Linked DNA regions of Homo sapiens: all the other regions are linked to region 1. The links are contacts of gene promoters, found by promoter capture Hi-C in blood cells and fetal thymus (Javierre and others, 2016). All regions are on one chromosome and are shown on one strand. The core of a region is centred on a gene start or on the middle of the fragment in contact, and the rest is flanking DNA. Distances in the headings are between cores, read along the strand shown. Region 1 holds the start of TIMM8B (translocase of inner mitochondrial membrane 8 homolog B). Region 2 has its middle 12 kb from the start of CFAP68. Region 3 holds the start of C11orf52 (chromosome 11 open reading frame 52).

Region 1 (4,494 bases), core at 1-2,500:
CCCAGAAAGCAGCAGCGATGGAGAGAACATACAATGGTGGCTCGGTGACAAGTGTATGTGCTGCACTCCACACCATTCTGGGATAGGTCGGTCCTGAAGAAATGCTGAGATATGAGCAGGTCTGACCACTGGAGTTCGAAGCAACAGAGCTGAGGAAAGAGTCATTAGGATGATCATAAGAACCTCTCCTTTAACAGGACTGACAAACTTTCTAAATGACCATAGGTAAGCTACTTAACAATAAATAGGGGATAACATCTTATTTGTAAAATGAAGATAGCATCTATTTCACTGGGGTTACTGTGAAGTTAAGACCAGGGAACATCTGCATGTTCCCTACTTTATTTAATGACACCTCAGGCATTCTTTAACCTAACTCAGTAATCTGGAAATCATGAGAGACTTTTCCCCTAAATTCAATCGCCAAATCCTATTGGCGTATCTCTTTAACAGTTCTTGAGACAATCTTCTTTTCTTTGTGCTACTTTCCTAGTTCAGGACCTCATCTTGCCCGGACTACTATGACAGTGTTTTCCTCATCAGAATGAAAGCTCGTTGAGGGCGGGAACTACGTTTTCTTCACATTTGTATCCTAGCATTACTACAGTACCTGAGGTAACACAAATGCCCAGGTTAAATGATTTTCGAACTGATCCCCCCTCCACTCCCACATCCAAACACACCAACTCCAGAAGAAATGGGCAAGCTCCTAACCCTCTTTCCCGACTCAGGGTGGGAGCGAGTGGGGAGCATTCTAGGGACAGTGAACGGGGAGAAAACAGAACTGCTATGTGGATTAGCCTCATCAGGACTGCGACTTCCAGAGGGAGCTCTCTTTCTGATTATTCCCTCAACTCGTCAGCTCACAGCAAGTGAAATATACCTTCGGGTAAACATCTGGACCCCTAGACTACAGTGGTCATTGCTGTGATTTCGGTATTTTCTTCTCCTCAAGAGATCTCCCACCCGGCAGATGAGTCCTCACTTCCATCCCCTTCCCTGGCTGGAGGCTACGCTAAGCACCTCAGGGTGGGAAGACCCCTCACCTCGGCCTCCTAGGGCACCGCAAACGGCACTCAGCCTCCAGAGAACCGCCATCTCGTTCCTGAGGGCTCAAGGTCATCCACCAACCCGGAACCACTTAGGCGACAATTCCCACCCACGACGACGAAAGAAAACAGGGAAGAGGAAATGCTGGGTGAACCGGAAGTCGAGAGGCGGTGCACACCCGTCGCGCATGCGCAAACACAGCTGTCGGAAGGTGGCGAGCCTGAGGCGAACAATGGCGGAGCTGGGCGAAGCCGATGAAGCGGAGTTGCAGCGCCTGGTGGCCGCCGAGCAGCAGAAGGCGCAGTTTACTGCACAGGTGCGGGGACGGGGAGGGTGAAGGGAAAGGAAGTTTCACCTTCCTTGGTGGTCCTGGGCACGCTCGGAGGTCTGTACACTGGCGGCTCACTGGTGCTCGATCCCGGCTGCATCCCATTCCCCTCACGAAAGACAAAGTTATGGCTCTCCTGTCCCTGGTGACCGGTAGTGCTCAGGTGCCAGGTATATAAGCGTAGCGTGGAGAAAAGAAAAGGTGTAAAACAGGGAAGATTTGGGCGACGCAAGGGTACGGGAGACTAGTTAGCCGGCGACATGACTGGGCTGGCATTCGAAAGATCTGGGTTCTCATCCTCCCTCTGCTCCTTGCAGGCCACGTGCCCGTAGAAAAGATACTCATCCACTGTGGGTTTTGGTGTCGCCGTCACCCCACTGCCTCACTGGATTGTGAGGATCATATGCGACAATGTATTTGAAAACGACTAGAACATTATCGGAGGAAGGTGGACTCTGAAGTAGTCGCTGTAGACTATGGATGTAGAACAAGGGTTTGGAGCCCTTCGGACATGGTTCTAACGCGGCCTGACTTCTTGCTGGCTACATGACCTTGGACTACATAATCACGCCTCTTAAATGGGAGGTGATGACAGCTATCCTTGAGGACCTTAGAGAGAACTGATTTCTTAGTACCCAGCCTCACAAATAGTAAGCTCTTGGTAAAATGGTTTTTTCCTTTTGGGTGGGAGGAAGAGGGTGCTCGGATGACCAGCAAGAACCCTGGCTAGAAATCTTTGGGCCCTGAACATTCTAATGACAGTGCACATAATTTCTGTGCCTGTATGTGCATTTTTCTGGGGAGTGGATCCATAACCCCCAAAAGGTTAATGGAAGAATTACCTTGTCTAGGGGATAGGTTTGGAATAAAATGAGTGCAATAGTTTGGGAAAATTAATTGGTTCCCTAGTTGGTTCACAATGGTGCTAGCTACTTTGGGGAATATAAAAGGTTATTAGTCCTACCTGAGAATGTACAATCTGTAGGGACGAGGATCTGGATCAATATTGGTGACTAATTAGGAAATGAAGAAAGAGAAGAGCCCAAAGTGACTCCGTGGTTGATTTAAAGAATGGTTTTGTCAGGTGTCAAAAAGTGAGAAGTTAATAAACAAGAGTTAGGCCTATCTGCAGACCCCAATGGTTACTATTTTTCTTTCCTTTTAGGTGCATCACTTCATGGAGTTATGTTGGGATAAATGTGTGGAGAAGCCAGGGAATCGCCTAGACTCTCGCACTGAAAATTGTCTCTCCAGCTGTGTAGACCGCTTCATTGACACCACTCTTGCCATCACCAGTCGGTTTGCCCAGATTGTACAGAAAGGAGGGCAGTAGGCCATCCCCCAGGAGAATGACAGAAGCAAAGGACTTGTTACTAAGCAGATTTAAGGGTCAGTGGGGGAAGGCTATCAACCCATTGTCAGATCAGCATCAGGCTGTTATCAAGTCTGTTGGTGCTAAAAAGTAAAAGATGAAATGTTCAAAGAGTGAAATTTATTTATTTGGAATTCAGAAATTCCAGGTTGTATGACATCAGTTACTCAATAAGTGTGAATTCTCCAACTCTTCTTTTAATCCCATTTTAGAATTTAATATAGAGATCTCTGATTGGCAGGAACACTAGAAATAAATGTTCCATGGCCAGTAGTGCAAATGGGGGATTGTAGGTTTTGAAAAACCACCCTAAGCCATATTAAGGGGGTTGGAAGAACCATCGAAGCCTAAGGCATAGAAGAAAATTTGGGGTTAAGAAAGATGAAGAACAAAAAACAGCTTTATTGCTTATACATGACCAAGAAAAGGAAAACATGGCAAAAAAAAAAAAAAAAAGGCAAGATGTGTATTCCTTGCGAAAGAACAAGCCTGCTAACTTGGGAGGAAGGGAAGGTCAGGACCCAAATAGAGCCAATTTCCTGGAGATGGCCTGTTCTACTGGCACATTTTCCTGAGTCTGTGCTTAAAACCTTTCAGGTACTTTCAGGGCACAGAAACAATGCATGCTAAAAAATATATGGCCAAAGCTCCTTCCAACAAAGATTTAACTTGCTCCAGGAACAAAATAATTGCTTTAGGTTAAGAGGTAGTAATTAGAGACTATTCTTCTCCCTTTAGACCCCCACTAATCCCAAAAATAAAAATACACACCATGGAACACTGACAATTGAGTACCAAAGTATTAAAATTTAAAATAAATATCCCAAAAGGTAGCACCTGCTCATAGTTAAGGGATAGGGCACCTCTGTCCAACCATGTATTTTAAGACCAAGCACTTTATTAGAAATCTGTCCCGTAAAGAGAACAAATTTAGCAGTTAGAACTAAAAATACCAACTCATGGAATGTCATCATAGTTGTATCTACTGCTGGTGTCTTATACTGTCATGCTACTGTGAAGTAATTCCGTATTACACATCAGGAAAGTAAGGCCAGGAAGGTGAACTTACCTGCTCTGGGCCTCCTCATAACCAATGAGTGGCAGAACCAAGACCGAAAGTCTGAGTTTTCAAGCTTTTTACTCAGCCCATTAAGTGACAACCAGGAAAAAATAATACGTCACTTGATCTTTCTTCCCACAGTGAAAAAATGCACTTGCGTTCTGCCAGCCTTCTTTCAGTGATATGTTGGTTTCTTAAGAATTAACATACTAAGGATCACAGTATAGCAAAGGGAATTAATGTGGTCTCTGCTTGGTGCTTTAATCCAAAGGCAGACTGGGAAGAAGTGGATATGTCCCTGAGAAGCCTGTTTCATTTTGGAAATAATTCAACTTAGTTTCAGGGAAAACCTAAACTTCATGAACAGATTTAGAAATGAACAAGACAACATTTAAATGGCAGTTGCTGCCCTGAATCCAGAGTACCATTAGACAACATGATTATTTCCTAATTCTTCCCCATTTGGTACAGGATTATCTATGACAATTGAAGAAATAATTTGAACACAAGTCCATTTAGGCAAATATACAGCAATGGAACTAGAAAACCATTTACTATCCAATTACCATGTTTAGGCATATACTAAGTATAGCTATAGGCCCCATCCAGCAGGGAAATTTGCAAAAACTCTAGTCCCTTCTAATAAGTTGTCTATGGATGTTATCATGAAGGGAAAAGGTTTGT
Region 2 (4,494 bases), core at 734-3,233, 200 kb after region 1:
AGCTACTCGGGAGGCTGAGGCAGGAGAATCCCTTGAAACCGGAAGGCGGAGGTTGCAGCGAGCTGAGATTGCATCACTGCACTCCACACTGGGCAAGAAAAGTGAAACTCCATCTCGAAGAAAAAAAAAAAAGATTACTAAAAACAAGTAAGGTAATTATTTACCCAATTTTTGGTAAATCAGTGAGTGACAGCATTTGTAGCAGTGGTGAGTTAAATCAAGGAATAAATGTTTGCAAAGTGAAAATTATAAGGAGTGTCTCCTACCACCATGCAGTTCAAAGGCAAACAGTCACAAATCTGGAGGCTTCGCTGAATGCTTTCTATTATAGCATTGCTTATGTTGTGCGTCTGTATGATTATTGTAGACTTTATGAATTTTTATTTTATAAACTTTGTATTCATTCATTCATTCATTCATTTTCCAACTGACTTATTCCAGTTCAGGGTCATAGGTTGTTGGAGCCTATCCTGGAAGCTTAGGGCACAAAGAGGGAACTGACCCTGGATGGGATGCCATCCCATCATGGGGTGTACTCACATGCACACCCCCACTCATTCAGACTGTGGGACCATTTAGAAATGCCAGTTCACCTAATGTGCGCATCTTTGGGATGTAGGAGGAACCTGGAGTACCCAAAGAAAACCTACGCAGACTTGGGAAGAACATGCAAACTCCACACAGACACTGTCCCAGCAGGGAAGTAATTTGTTTTTCTCATCAACCTAATAATGATACAATGCTAAATAAAACAACATTATTTGAAGACCTGCTGTACATTGAAAAAAAAGAAAAATTGCAAATCAAAAAACTGATTTTACATCATAAGGAACTAGAAAAAGAAAAGCAAATCCAAACCAAAGCTAGAAGAAGAAAGAAAATAATAAAGGTTAGAGCAGAGATAAATAAAAGACAGAACAGAAAAATAAAGGAAGTCAATGAAACCAAAAGTTATTCCTTTGAAAAAATCAACAAAATTGACAACCCTTACCTAGATTGACTAAGAAAAAAAGAGAGAAAAATCAAATTACTAAAATCAGAAAAAAGTGGGGACATTTTTGCAGATGCAAACAGAAATAAAAAAGATTATATGAGAATACTATGAACAATTATCTGCTAGCAAATTGGAAACATAGGTCAAACAGATAAATTCCTACAAACACATATTTTACCAAAACTGACTCATGAAGAAATAGAAACTCTGAGTAGGTCCATAATTTGGAGTAAGGAAATTGAATTAGTAATCAAAATACCCCAACAATGAAAAGCCCTGGACCAGATGGCTTCACTGATGAGTTCTACCAAATATTTATATAAGAATTAACATCAGTCCTCCTCAAACTTTTTAAAAGAAAAACAAAGAGGAGGAATACTTCCTAACTTATTCTGGGAGACCAGCATTACCCTGATACCGAAGCTAGACAAAGACATTACAAGAAAAGAAAACTACAGACCAATACACCACATAAATCTTCAACAAAATACTAGCAAACCAAATTCGCAGGATATTAAAAGGATTATAAATATATTCCTGAAATGCAAGTTTGAGTCAACATATTAAAATCAATCAATACAATACACCGCATTTACAAAATAGAGGGAAAAAATCCCACAGGATCATCTCAGTTAATGCAGAAAAAGCATTTGACAGAATTCAAAACCCTTATACAATAAAAACATTCAACAAACTAGGAGTAGAAGGAAACTACCTCAACATAATAAAGACCATATATGAAAAACCCACAGCAAACACCAAACTCAATGATAAAAATTAAAAGTTTCGGCCAGGTGTGGGGGCTCACACCTGTAATCTCAGCACTTTGGGAGGCCGAGGCTGGAGGATCACTTGGGCCCAGGAGTTCGAGACCAGCCTGGGCAGTATGGCGAAACCTCATCTCTACAAAAACTACAAAAATTAGCATGGCCTGGTGGCATGCACCTGTAGTCCTAGCTACTCGGGAGGCTGAGGTGAGAGTATAGCTTGAGTCTGGGAAGCAGAGGTTGCAGTGAGCCAAGATCGTGCCACTACACTCTAGCACTTGACCCTCTCTCAACAAATAAAAAACAAAACAAAAAACAAAAATTCCACCAAAACTAAAAGTTTTAGCCTATTGCCAGTCCTTGGAAAAAAAATAAAAGGTCTTCCTTTAAGATCAGGATCAAGACAAGGATACCCACTTTTGCCACTTCTACTCAGTATATTATTAGATGTTCTGCTCAGAGCAATTAGGTAAGAAAAAGAAATAAAAGTATCCACATTGGAAAGGAAGAAGTAAAATTATCTGTTTGCAGATGACATGATCTTACATGTGGAAAACCCTAAAGATTACACACACACACACACACACACACACACACACACACACCATTAGAACTAATATACAAATTCAGCAAAGTGGCAGGACACAAAACCAACAAACAAAAATCAATTCCATTTCTATACATTAACAATTAGTAACCTGAAATAAAGATTAAGACAACAATACTATTTACAATAACATCAAAAAGACTAAAATACTTAGGAATAAACCAAGAAGGTAAGACTTATACACTGAAAACTATAATGTATTGCTGAAAGAAATTAAGAAGACATAAATAAATGGAAAGACATCTGTGCTCATGAATTGGAAGACTTAATATTAAGATATCAATATTAGCCATACTGATTACAGATTCAATGCAATCCCTATCAAAATTCCAATGACTTTGCAGAAAAAAAAAATCTATCCTAAAATTCATATGGAATCTCAAGGGACCCTGAAGAGCTGAAACAATCTTGAAAAAGAACAAAGTGGGAAGACTTAGACTTTCTGATTTCAAAACTTATTACAAAACTACAGTAATCAAAATGGTGTGATATTGGCAAAAAGGCAGAATGTAGATCAATGTAATAGAATATAGAGTCCAGAAATAAACCTTAGTGCATATGGGCAAATGATTTCCAACAAGGGTGACATGACCATTTAATGGGGAAAGGACAATCTTTTCAACAAATGGTGCTGGGAAAACTGAATATTCACTTGCAAAAGAATGAAGTTGGACCCATGCCTTATATATACCTTATACTATAGATACAAATTAATTCCAAAAGTATCAAAGACCTATTTTATTTATTTTTAATTAATTTATTATTATTATTATTTTTTGAGACAGGGTTTTGCTCTTGTTGCCAAGGCTGGAGTGCATGGTGTGATCTCAGCTCACTGCAACCTCCACCTCCGAGGTTCAAGCAATTCTCCTGCTTCAGCCTCCCAAGTAGCTGGGATTACAGGCATGCACCACCACACCCGGCTAATTTTGAATTTTTAGTAGAGATGGGTTTCACCGTGTTGGCCAGGCTGGTCTTGAAATCCTGACCTCAGGTGATCCACCTGCCTCGACCTCCCAAAGTGCTGGGATTACAGGCATGAGTCACTGCGCCCAGCCAAAGACCTCTTTTGTCAGAACTAAAACTATAAAACTCTTAGAAGAAAATAGGGGGAAAGCTTTTTAACACTGTATTTAGCAATGGTTTCTTGGATATAACACCAGAAGCACAGGCACCACCAACAAAAAATAGATAAATTGGACTTATCAACATTAAAAACTTTTGTGCATCAAGGGACAGTATCTAGAGAGTGAAACAACATCTTCCTCTCTGGGCTTGGACCTAGTTTGTGGTGACATGGCCAAATGCACCAAGAAAGTTGGAATGAGGCTGGACACGGTGGCTCACGTCTGTAATCCCAGCACTTTGGGAGGCCAAGGTGGCTGGATCACTTGAGATCAGGAGCTCGAGACCAGCCTGGCCAACATGGCGAAACCCCATCTCTAATCAAAATACAAAAATTAGCCAGGCATGATGGCACACGCCTGTAGTCCCAGCTACTGGGGAGGCAGAGGCAGGAGAATAGCTTGAACCTGGGATGCAGAGGTTGCAGTGAGCCGAGATCGTGCCACTGAACTCCAGCCTGGGCGACAGAGTAAGACTCAATCTCAGAAAAAAAAAAAAAAAAGAAAGTCGGAATAGTCAGTAAATACAGGACCCACCATGGGGCCTCCCTCTGGAAAATGGTGAAGGAAATTGAAATCAGCCAGCACACCAAGTACACTTGCTCTTTCTGTGGCAAAACCAAGATGAAGAGACGAGCTGTGAAAATCAGGCACTGTAATTCCTGCATGAAGACAGTGGCTGGCAGTGCCTGGACCTACAACACCACTTCGGCTGTCATGGTGAAGTCTGCCATCAGAAGACTGAAGGAATTGAAAGACCAGTAGATGCTCCTCTACTCTTTGAGACATCTCTGGCCTATAACAAATGGGTTAATTTATGTTAAAAAAAAAAAAAGAGAGAGAGAGTGAAACAACAATCTACACAATCAGAGAAAATATTTGCAAATCTTATATCTGATTAGAAATTAGTATCTGGAACATGTAAGGATGTATAAAGAACTCCTACAACTCAACAACAAATAAATCAACAAACCAATTCACAAATGGGCAAGGAACTTGAAA
Region 3 (4,494 bases), core at 1,012-3,511, 170 kb after region 1:
GTATGATAATATAATTCAGACCTCATGGGATTATTGTAAGGATTAAATAAAACAGGAAATGTAAAATACTTAGCATGGTTCCTAGCATATAATAAGCATGAGTAAAAGTTGACCACTAATGACTATCACCATCAGAGAACTAATCAGTAATGAAAAAAGAATACCAACACTTGGGAAGAAAGAGAATAAAAGAAGCTGTTACATCTCCTTCTCTAGAAGCTTTTCTGTGCTTCTAGATGTCCTATGTCTATAGGGCACCTCAGAGTTTAAAGGGTGCTTTATTTTTTCAATCCTGACATTCCAGGAAACACATATTTTTGTTCCCATTTTACAGACGGGTTAATGAAGGGCCTTTTTTACTAACTTAATAAAGAGTAAAATTTTCCATGATGTTAGGTGTTCTTCCAACATTCTTTATGAAGTGGCTACGTATTTCCCATTAATTGGATATGCCATGTATTTAGACAGTTACCAAATGTTGGACCTTCAGGGTATTTCTTACTCAACAAGGCAGGGACCAAATGTCCTTTTATTACTATGTCTTCTGTGTCTATCACTGTGCCTGTAGTACATGTTCAATAAACACTGTTTAATAAATGAATGGATAAATGAATGAGTAGTAGGGCAGGACTTGAATCCAATGTACTACTCCAAAACCTGTGTGTTTTCCAATGCACTTCACTTGTCTATCTAAATATAATGATGCTTTATTTATAACATGACATCTTCCAGATCTGCCCCAGGCATGGAAGGCAGTAGACAGAATAAAACCAGGACCAGGAATTTACGGCATGGCAGTGATGAAAATTCTGGGAAAGAATAGTAACAACCCCACAGATAATTTATTATGAGGTTTTCACATACGCTATATCCTTTGCTCTTCAAAATAAGCCTGTGATCTACACAATGTAGGATGTATTATCTACATTTTACATGTGAGGATGGATACAGAGAAATTAAGGGACTTATTACCTATGGTCACATAGTAAATAAGTGTGAAAGTCATATTCAGATATTCCATGGATATTCTTCTTTTTCCTACTTCTGCCCTTTTATTTTTATTTTCATTTTTGAGACAGGGTCTCATTCTGTCACCCACACTGGAGTGCAGTGGTGTGATCATGGTTCACTGCAGCCTCTACCCCCAGGGCTCAGGTGATCCTCCTGCCTCAGCCTCCCAAGTACCTGGGATTACAAGCACGCACCACCACGCCTAGCTAATTTTTAATTTTTTTGTAGAGATGGGGCCACCCTATGTTGCCCAGGCTGGTCTCAAACTCCTTTTCTTTTTTTTTTTCAAGACATAGTCTCGCTCTGTTGCCCAGTCTGGACTGCAGTGGCGCAATCTCAGCTCACTGCAACCTCTGTCTCCCAAGCTTAAGGGATTCTCGTGCCTTAGCTTCTCAAGTAGCTCAGATTACAGGCGTGTGCCACCATGCCTGGCTAATTTTTTTGTATTTTTAGTAGAGATGGTGTTTTGCCATGTTGGCCAGGCTGGTCTTGAACTCCTGGCCTCAAGTCATCTGCCTGCCTCAGCCTCCCAAAGTGCTAGGATTACAGGTGTGAGTCACTGCATCCGACCACTTCTGCCCTTTAATTTATTTTATTTTATTTTATTCTATTTTATTTTATTTTATTTTTGAGACGGAGTCTTGCTCTGTCACCCAGGGTGGAGTGCAGTGGTGCAATCTCGGCTCACTGCAAGCTCCGTCTCCTGGGTTCAAGGGATTCTCCTGACTCAGCCTCCCGAGTAGCTGGGACTACAGGCACCCACCACCACGCCCGGCTAATTTTTTGTATTTTCAGTAGAGATGGGGTTTCACCGTGTTAGCCAGGATGGTCTCGATCTCCTGACCTCGTGATCCACCCGCCTCGGCCTCCCAAAGTTCTGGGATTACAGGCGTGAGCCACCACGCCTGGCACTTCTGCCCTTTTAAATAAACATTGCTTCAAAGTTGACTTGCTTGATCTAAGAGGCAATATTATGCAGTGGTTCAAAAGGTGGCCTCTGAAGTCAGGTGGGCCTCAGTTGGAATCTTGGTTTACTTGCTTACCAGCCATGTGACCTTAGGCAAGTTAGTTAATTTCTCTGAGCCTCAGTTTCTCAGCTGACTGTAAAATAGGAGGAGGGGCAAAACCATTTACCTCATAAAGTATTGGAAAAATTAAATGAGACTGTAAAATGTCTGGCACATAGAAAGCTCTCAAGTGCTACAATTATTACTCTCATCCAGGAAGAAAGGGAAAGAAGGGGAAAGGGAGGAAGAGGGCACAGAAAAACAATGCCGGTTCAATATTCCTGCCCTGCTCTGGCCATTCCGCAGACAGCTAGCTTGGCTCTGTTTTTTTTTGTTGTTGTTGTTGTTGAGACAGTCTCGCTCTGTTGCCAGGCTGGAGTGCAGTGGCGCGATCTCGGCTCACTGCAACCTCCGCCTTCCGGATTCAAGCGATTCTCCTGCCTCAGCCTCCCGAGTAGCTGGGACTACAGGTGCGCGCCACCATGCCCAGCTAATTTTTGTATTTTCAGTAGAGACGGGGTTTCACCATGTTGGCTAGGATGGTCTCGATCTACTGACCTCGTGATCCGCCGGCCTCGGCCTCCCAAAGTGCTGGGAGTAGAGGCGTGAGCCACCGCGCCCAGCCACTTGGCTCTGTCTTCTAAGGCCTCCTGAAAGGAGGTGCTGCTCTGGTGTTGGAACAAGGAGGTACCAGGCAGAGGAAGGTGGCAGTGGGAGGCTGGCAGACAACTATCTCCAGGTCCTCTGATTTTCGGGGCCTCTACATCCACCAACAGAGATAGATGTTCCCCTTTGCCCTTCCAGCCTACTCACCAGCTTCCTCCGCAGCAGACCCGGTTTCCCATGGCGCTCTGTCTCCAAGGGAGCCCAGCTGTTTTTATGCATCAAGAGGCTTGTGCATTTCCGGGTTCCTGGTTGAGCTTTCCGCGGCAGCTCCCGGAGTCTGTGTCAGTGTCAGATTTCAACCTAGCAGGTTGGACTTTTGAAGCCACCTGCTGGAATGATTCCCAGGTGACTGTGTTCCCAGCCAAAGGGTAGAACAACACACGGGCTCCAGGTGAGAGCTATCTCAACTTCAGGATTTGAAGCGTCTTTTGATGAAGCCATGAACTTGAGCTTCAAGCTTCAATAAAAAGAAACCTGAGATAGAAAAGGGCTCTTGGTTTCCTTACGAAATGCTTCTCCATTACATCACTCTGTCTTTGAAATATATCCTCTATAATAGATGAGTGCCTAATGTAGTAGTTTGCTCAGCACCACTCAGGTTTAACTGAGTTTCACTTTCGAGGCAATTGGTACCAGTTTCTTATTATTTTTGTACAGAATCTGGGTTGGGATACTGGAGTCTCTTGGAAACTTAAGTTTGGGGAAATGGGTTCCTCATATATTCTCCCTTGCTATTTGAAATCGATGTGGGCAAATCACTTAACCTTTATAGGGCCTAAGTTTCTAGGGCTGTGAAATGAAAAAAACTGAATCTAATCCCCTTTCTGGTATAAAATCAGATGATTCTATGATCAGGATGGCCTCAGCACTTCTTAACCACTCATTTCCTTATCCACAGTTCAGAACTACTGATTCTCCACTTACCCCTCAACTCTGCGTCTCCTTCCAGTAACCCAAAGTTAGACTCACCCGCACTCACCAGTAGAAAATATGGGCTCTACGAGAATCTGTGAAACCCATCATTCTTGTGTTCAGTTCTCTCACCCCATTTTTAGTGTTTTCCTCGGATGCCTGGTTATTGTCCTTTAAGTGGATGTTCAGGGCCCACCACTCAGCTCTGCACTCCACAGAGAATACCCTGGACTTTGAACTCCTCCTCTTATGAAACATGGGTAAGAGTGACAATCTTACAGGATTGTGGTGAAAAATAAAGCTCTAGTGCAGGGCCTGGCACATGGGACACACTCAGTAAGAGTTAGGCATTGTTGTTATTATTACAAAGCATCTTATTTTCTTTCTTTCTTTTATTTTTAAAGACAGGGTCTCAATCTGTCACCCAGGCTGGAGTTGAGTGGCTAGCTCACTGCAACCTCAAACTCCTACGCTCAAAAGATTCTCCCCCCTCAGCCTCTCGAGTAGCTGGGACTACAGGCTCACACCACTGTGCCTAGCTAATTAAAAAAAAAAAAATCTTTTTAGAGACAAGGTCTTTTTTTTTTTTTTTAAATTAATGTGAGATGGGGGTCTTGTTATGTGGACCAGGCTGGTCTCGAACTCCTGGCCTCAAGCAATCCTCCCATCTCAGCCTCCCAAAGTGCTGGGGTTACAGGTGTGAGGCACCACACCTGGCCAAGATAGGGTCTTGCTATGTTGCCCCTGCTGGACTTGAACTTCTGGCCTGAAGTGACCCTCCCACCACGCCTGGTTCCCACATCTTACTTTCTTTTCTTGTGCCCCAATCATTGCACTATTTCATGGCCATGCTTCTTCCATGCAATCCATTCTGTACTCTACTCTACCATTAACTGTA

What was found. Contacts are between HindIII fragments. The CHiCAGO score rates a contact against its expected background, and 5 or more counts as called.
Region 2: a contact is called between a fragment that was not itself captured here and the fragment with the promoter of TIMM8B in region 1, in 1 of 17 cell types (neutrophils). The highest score is 6.0, in neutrophils.
Region 3: a fragment that was not itself captured here is called in contact with the fragment with the promoter of TIMM8B in region 1 in 1 of 17 cell types (neutrophils); the score reaches 5.2 in neutrophils.

What each region holds. Positions count from the first base shown.
Region 1 is chr11:112,083,512-112,088,005 of GRCh38, reverse strand. It overlaps TIMM8B (translocase of inner mitochondrial membrane 8 homolog B), which reads left to right and starts at 1,250. Exons shown (of 2, transcript NM_012459.4): 1 at 1,250-1,366; 2 at 2,544-3,206. The coding sequence starts at 1,283. The coding sequence ends at 2,711. SDHD (succinate dehydrogenase complex subunit D) reads right to left here and starts at 1,133. Exons shown (of 4, transcript NM_003002.4): 1 at 1,047-1,133; 2 at 33-149. The coding sequence starts at 1,098. It overlaps NKAPD1 (NKAP domain containing 1), which reads right to left. Exons shown (of 6, transcript NM_018195.4): 6 at 2,856-4,494. RefSeq lists enhancers at 1-169, 863-1,132, 496-1,695. The HindIII fragment of the contact is 12,905 bases long and covers 1-3,885 here.
Region 2 is chr11:111,888,962-111,893,455 of GRCh38, reverse strand. It overlaps the pseudogene RPL37AP8. Among named protein-coding and RNA genes, the nearest start is that of CFAP68, 12 kb to the right of the region's middle. The HindIII fragment of the contact is 3,008 bases long and covers 480-3,487 here.
Region 3 is chr11:111,917,342-111,921,835 of GRCh38, reverse strand. C11orf52 (chromosome 11 open reading frame 52) reads right to left here and starts at 2,923. Exons shown (of 4, transcript NM_080659.3): 1 at 2,832-2,923. The coding sequence starts at 2,863. HSPB2-C11orf52 (HSPB2-C11orf52 readthrough (NMD candidate)) reads right to left here. Exons shown (of 5, transcript NR_037651.1): 2 at 2,832-3,158. It also overlaps a transcript of CRYAB not described here. RefSeq lists an enhancer at 2,797-3,091. The HindIII fragment of the contact is 1,765 bases long and covers 1,379-3,143 here.